Regions from separate parts of the Homo sapiens genome. Here region 1 is linked to region 2. The links are contacts of gene promoters, found by promoter capture Hi-C in blood cells and fetal thymus (Javierre and others, 2016). All regions are on one chromosome and are shown on one strand. The core of a region is centred on a gene start or on the middle of the fragment in contact, and the rest is flanking DNA. Distances in the headings are between cores, read along the strand shown. Region 1 holds the start of FABP6 (fatty acid binding protein 6). Region 2 holds the start of C1QTNF2 (C1q and TNF related 2).

Region 1 (3,400 bases), core at 452-2,951, 140 kb after region 2:
CATCCACAATATGGAGATAATAAGGCCCATCCCAAAAGGCTGTTACAAGAATTATATTCAATGTGAGTGTGTTTGTGAAGCTCCTGGCACATGGTGGGTGCTCATCAATAATAACCAAGCTTCTGATAGTAATATAAATATAACTGAATCTTGCCAAGCTCGCGAAGTTCTGGAATGAATGAGACTTTCAAGACCAGGTATGGTGGTTCATGCCTGTAATCCCAGCTCCTTGAGGGCCCGAGGCAGGCAGATCGTTTAAGGTCAGAAGTTCGAGACCAGCCTGGCTAACATGGTAAAACCCTGTCTCTACTAAAAATACAAAAAAATTATCTGGGCATGGTGGCAGGTGCCTGTAATACTGGCTACTTGAGAGGCTGAGGCAAAAGAATCACTTAAACCCTGGAGGCAGAGGTTGCAGTGAGCTGGGATCGCGCCACTGCAGTTCCGCCTGGGCTACAGAGCAGGACTCCGTCCCCTCCTCCCTGCCAGAGAAAGACTGTGTCTTCTAATACTTTTATTTTACAGATAAGGAAGTGAGCACCCAGAATGGGAAAGGGACTTCCCAGTATTTCACTGAAATTTAATGACCGAATCAGGTCTAGAACCAAAGTGGGCTCACTTCCCATCCCACAACACGAGGCTGTTATAGGTGAAGCCAAGTCATTGCTCCTTCAGGGCCACTGCCAATACATGACTCAGAGGGACTCTCGACTCCTCAAGGCCCCAAGGCACAAGGGCCCTGGTCTCAGGGTTGCTCTGAGCCAGCTGGCAGGCAAGAAGTGGCCACCAAGAGGGAGGGCACGGGTCCCCTTGAGCTGTCCTCTGAACCTTGAGAGTTACACTGCCTGAGACTTTTTAGATAGTGAGATACTGAGATTTCCACAAGATTGTCAGATCCACTGTCTCATTGGTTCCTCACAACAGACTGGTGTTACAAGTCAAGCAGTGAGAGAAGGAATGAAATCACTGGTCTCTCTGCCCACAGTGTTTGGCACAGTAAGAGGCCTGTGTTTGCTGAATGACTGTGTGAAGAAGTGACTTGTCAAACCTGGTCTCCATGCTAACCCTTTGGTTTCCTCTCCCAGGCAGGATGTGGTGACACCACTCATCACAGGGTCCTGGGTGCCAATGGCCTCTGCCACTGACTTGGGCAAGTCACGCTGAGTCCCCATTGGTAACACTGAGATAGCCTTGCATATAGCTGGTGTTCAATAAATGTTTGATGGGCTGGGCTCGGTGGCTCACGTCTGTAATCCCAGCATTTTGGGAGGCCGAGGTGGGTGGATCACCTGAGGTTAGGAGTTCAAGACCAGCCTGAGCAACAGGGTGATACCCCGTCTCTACTGAAAATACAAAAAATTAGCCAGATGTGGTGGCACATGCCTGTAGTTCCAGCTACTTGAGAGGCTGAGGTAGGAGAATTGCTGGAACCCAGGAGACGGAGGTTGCAGTGAGCTGAGATCATGCCACTACACTTCAGCCTGGGAGACAGAGCAAGACTCCGTCTCAAAAATAAATGAATAAAAATAAATACATGTTTGACTAAATAAACATCAAATCTCTACTTCACCAACCAAGTCTCCACTTTACCAATTACTAGCTGTGTGACTTTGGACTAGTTAATTCCCTGGGCCTCAAGTTTTCCATCAGTAAAGTGGAAATACTAATATATTCTATGTGTGTTTTAAAGTCAAAGAGTGTCTATGCTGGGTGCGGCAGCTCACGCCTGTAATTCCAGCACTTTGGGAGGTCGAGCTGGGTGGATCACCTGAGGTCAGGAGTTCAAGACCAGCCTGGCCAACATGGTAAAACCCCATCTTTACTAAAAAAATACAAAAAAAAAAAATTAGCCGGGCGTGGTGGTGCACACCTGTAATCCCAGCTACTCGGGAGGCTGAGGCAGGAGAATTACTTGAACGTGGGAGCCGAAGGTTGCAGTGAGCCGAGATGGTGCCACTGCACTCCAGCCTGGGAGACAGAGTGAGACTCTGTCTCAAAAATAAAATAAAATAAAATAAAATAAAATAAAATAAAATAAAATAAAATAAAATAAAATAAAATAAAAAAGTTAAAGAGTGTCTTAGTTCTTATTATCCTCAGAGCCTGGGAGAAAGCAGTTGCTCAACAAATGTGTGAATGAATGAATGAGTGAGTGAGTGAATGAATGGATGAAATCCTGTCCCATTCTACTTTAGGGTTCCTGGCCCAGAGCTGGCTGTGACAAACCAACCCCGAGGAAGGGATACCCAGGAGCTCACTCACCAAGGAGCTTCATGAACTCATCATAATTCTTCTCACTCTCCATCTCGAACTTGCCGGTGAAAGCCATGCTGCTGGGAGGCTGGAGGCCAGAGAGCAGAGGGATGAGGAGAATGGGTGGTGCTGAGGGGTCTGCTATCCCAGCTTATAAACTCTCCCAGTTGCTGAGGCTCAGCCCCTAAGTCACCCCACTTCTTCTCCCTCCTGTCCTGAAGAGGAAGCACTTGCTGTTTTATGATGTGGGCAGGACCTGGAGGGACAGAGCCCCGAGGTTATTCACCCTGGGGAAGTGCTGTCACCCCATTGCCAGCAGGGTCAGGATGGCAACGGGTTTGAGGAGTCATCACCTCTCTGCCCATCTCTCCCTCCGTTCCCGCATGCCCTGCCCTCAACCCATGCTCTCACCATCTCTCATCACTCTTGCACCCTCTAACTCTGCAGCCAAAGCACTTGAGCACTTGCTGCATGCAGGGCCAGCACTGAAGAAACACAGATGAACGAGACACACACCTTTCCCAAAAGAGCCTTTGGTTTAGTCCAGAGACAAGCACACACCTGCAGAGAGTTCTTGTGTAAGCAGGATGTGATGTGCCCCAGGAGAAAAGCAGATGGCTGACCTGGAGCATGGGGAAGGAGCAATGGTGTCCAGCGCAGGGCTAGTGCATGTTTGGGGAGGAGGTGGCATTTGGCACCCGTCTTGGAGGACCAATAGGACTTGGATGTGTAGAGAAGCAGGAAGGTTGGAGGAGGCTGAGAACAAAGGGAGACGATATTCTAGGACGAGGGAACAGTGTGACGAAGATGGAAAGGGCCATGATGAAAGGAAACAATGAGTTTAGCTGGAGCAAAGCAAACTTGAAGGAGAACAGATGCTCCTAAGGGTGCAGATAATGCAACCAGAGTAAAGCAGCCACCCATGGGCCTAGGCAGCGCACCTGGAGGAGAAGGTGCCAGGTGCCTTGAAGATGCCTGTGCACCAGGCACTGGGCTGGATGCTGGATGAGTTTTATTTTGTTCAAGCTTCAGAGCTGGAAGGGGTTAGGGGTTCAGAATCTTGACTTCCATTTCCTGCTGTGTCTCTCAGTACCACTTCACATGCAGGGACTCTATCTCCTCCGTGATCACTCCGGCCTACCCATCT
Region 2 (3,536 bases), core at 530-3,029:
GTTTCACACTACCAGGTATAGCAGCACTGCCTTTCTTAACTTTTCATTAACCTTTTTTTTTTAACCAATGAGAGCATGCCAGTGATTTCAACCTCTGTCATGATGGAGCCACATGGATAACACACAGATATTACCACTCTACTCTAGGAGAGGGGCTTTCCTGAGCCCTTTAGATTCTGAATGGCCTCCAGGCATTCTAAGCAGTTTCCTCACCTTTCCAATTGCTGACACATCTGACCCAAGAGGCGGTGGATGGAAGTTTCCTTTCCAGCCATCTGTGTATCAACACCCTAAACTCCACTCCACATGTTATCATTCCTTCATTTTTTGAGCTCACACTTCCCCTACATTCAGACAAGTCTCAGTCATCTCTCAGGGTTCACCTGAAACATCAGTTTCCCAGGCCTTCCCCTGACTGCCCAGTTTATACTTTAAGCTTTTCTTTTCTATAACACTCATTTCACTTGTAACCACTTGTGTCATCCCCAGCTGGAGGACTCTAAGTTTCATGAGGGTAGGCATCAAGCCTATTTGTTTCCCTCTATGTCCCCAGCACCTTGCTTGGGGACTGACACACAATGGATGCTTATTAAATATTTGTTGAATGAATGTTTGTTAAGCCTACAAACTTTCTTTCTCAAATAGTATTTATGTGATATTAGTAATAATTCCCTACATAGTTCAATGGCTTACCAAACATCTTTATGAGTTAGTGTCCCAACTTTGGGGTAAAGGCAGTGCAGGTAATATTATTCTCCCATTTTTTTTAGAAAATAAAACACCATCTGTGAGATTATCTGACTTGATTAAGGTGGTGGATACAACATTAGAATTCAAATGCATATCTGTATTAAAATTCTGACTGTAAATTTTGTGTCACTTACCAGCTGTTAACCAGATGCTCTGGCTGTGCAGAGTGAAATATGGGTAGCTAGTGGAAGAGAGCAGTGGAAGGAACAGGGAGAAGCAAAAGCCAGGCCTTGGAGGATTTCCTTTCCTCCAGTGCCTGCTTGATTCCCAAATAGGATTGCTTTGCCTATCCTGGGAGCTGAGACCCTCCATAAGTCTCTCAATGACTTGAGGCTGGGCCAGAGTGAGTGAGACCAGTGAATCCTCACCTTCTGGGGAGAAGAGAAATGAGAGCTGGTACACAGGGGAACTCACCCACACTAGTGTGTATGTGCACACTCACATCCGGACAAAATCCACACCAAGGCATGCATAGAAATCAACACATAGAATGAGCCACTGCACAGTCATACACACATTTAAACATACACCCCACATACAGATGTCAAACCAACACACAGAATGAGCCCCTGCACAGTCACACACACATTTAAACATGCACCCCACATACAGATGTCTAGCCACTATCGTGTACATCCAACCACTGATGTGCCCTCCAGTTTTACACCAAGCTGCCATCTTGGACATGTGCATGCATGTGTACATACACCGAACAGCCCTGATGAAAATTTGGATAAACGCACGTACGCACACACACAACTAAACACATCCCTATGATTTATCATCACACTCAAGTACATGCACACCTTTGCAAACGCGTGGGAAACAATCACTCTGATCACTCTGGCGCACAAAACCTCCAAATACGCTAACAAGCTCTACAAACGCAGAGATGCATCGACACACCCGAGTTGTCATCAGCACTGCAAGTTTTTTCCAAACAGCTGCTAAAAAGAGAATGCTGCGCTGCGGGCCAGCCCACGTGACCGGGAGGAAGGCTCTCCCGCCCATGACGGGATGGGAAAACTATGCCTGGGGCCGACGCTCTGCCCGGCTGCTGCCGCTGAGGAAAGCCGGGACGCGGAGCCCCGCCGAGAGCTTCTTTGCTCCGGACGCCCCTGGACGTGGCGGGCAGCCGCGAGGGTGAGTGTCCCGCACCGCGGTCGGGCGGGGGCGGCAAGTGCGCGCGGGGAGGAGGAGGAGGAGGACTCGCACTGCTGCGGGCGGGGCGGGATGCGGAAGGTGGGAGAGCTGCCAGCGCGCCTTTATTGCGGGCTGGGCAGCTCCTGCATTCCTGCCTCTCGACTTCTACCTTCGTATTATAATACAAATTAACATGTTTTGAGTCCTTACTGTGTGCCAGGCTCTGTGCCCAGTGGTTTACCCGTTACAATAGTAACACCCGTAGCTCTGCCATTTATTGAGCGCCTACTTTGTGCCAAGTCCTGCTAGCACTTTACTTGTGCTCTTTCATTTTCATGACAACAGATTATCCCCGTCTACAAAAGAGGAACTGGGCTCAGAGACATTAATGACTTGGACAGGGTTGCACAGCTAGTAATTGATAAAAAAGGGACTTGAAGTCTGGTAAATCTGAGTCCAATACCCGAGCTAACAATCACAGTTAACATTTACTGAATGCATTATTTCACTTAACCTTCACATTTATTTAAATATATGATACAGACTGGCAAACTGAGCTCAAAAGGTATTGAACGGCAGGCAGAGATTTGTACTCAATGCCTCATGACTCTCTTCACTCTCCTTCCCCACCTAAACTACTTGTCTTAATATGCTTTGTCCTTATTTCTCCATCCCCACTGCTGCTGCCCCATTCTAGGACCTCGCTTTTCAGCTAAATAATTGCAGTGGGCCCTAATAGTCTCCCAGCCCAGGTCTCTCCTCTGACACCATGAGTCCCTTGCATTACCTCATTGTGATCCTCCTCTGCTCCTTGACCACAAAATTGCCCTGCTTGGAAGCCTGCAGAGGTCCCTTCCTTAGACTGGCCATCTCTCAGAGACCCTGTGTTTCCACCATGCTGAAGTAGCAGTAATAGAAAGACAATGTCTTACATAGGTCAATCCAAGGCTGGTGCTCAGTTAGCACTGTTAAAAATCTGTCCTCTCACATCCTTATTTTTGCCCTCCCTCTGCACCATTCTCTAATTTATTCTGTCATCTGGAGTAATTATATCAATTACTCCTGCTTTCAACTGCCCGATCCTCAAACTCTCCACACATTTCCAAGCATCACTACAGCCCTTCATTGTAACACATCAGATTCACTGCAGAATTTGTTTCCTCCCAAATGTCTGACTTCTCCCCATCTCCTAGCAGGGATACCACACTTACCAGTCTTCCAATCCTTAAACCTTAGGTTTACCTTTTGTTTTAAATGTTATAAAAGTAACGACGCTCATCACAAGAAATTCGAACAGTTCAAAAAGGTAGAAAGAGAAAAGTAAAAGCCCACACACCCCCTCCCAATTCTGAAAGGTAACCCCTTAACAAGATTGTGTCTTTTCGGAAAGTATTTCCCCAACCCTTCTGTACATATATATACTCTGTATTTGTGCTGTTTTTTTTTTTTTTAAACTCAAAGAGAAGCATACTTTACATTCCATGGTACAACTTGCTTTTTTCACTTAACAGTGTGTCTTCGCCATGTTTTCATATCTGCATATACAGGCTTACTTTGTTCTTCTAATGGGCATAGTGTGTCATTGTATGGATGAACTGAGATTATTTTTCACAAGGCTGGAGTCACGTTTGAAGCCACTCTGT

What was found. Contacts are between HindIII fragments. The CHiCAGO score rates a contact against its expected background, and 5 or more counts as called.
Region 1: a fragment that was not itself captured here is called in contact with the fragment with the promoter of C1QTNF2 in region 2 in 1 of 17 cell types (neutrophils); the score reaches 11.7 in neutrophils.

Annotation. Positions count from the first base shown.
Region 1 is chr5:160,228,487-160,231,886 of GRCh38, reverse strand. It overlaps FABP6 (fatty acid binding protein 6), which reads right to left and starts at 2,381. Exons shown (of 4, transcript NM_001445.3): 1 at 2,263-2,381. The coding sequence starts at 2,329. The HindIII fragment of the contact is 3,160 bases long and covers 122-3,281 here.
Region 2 is chr5:160,368,869-160,372,404 of GRCh38, reverse strand. C1QTNF2 (C1q and TNF related 2) reads left to right here and starts at 1,779. Exons shown (of 3, transcript NM_031908.6): 1 at 1,779-1,893. The HindIII fragment of the contact is 8,188 bases long and covers 439-3,536 here.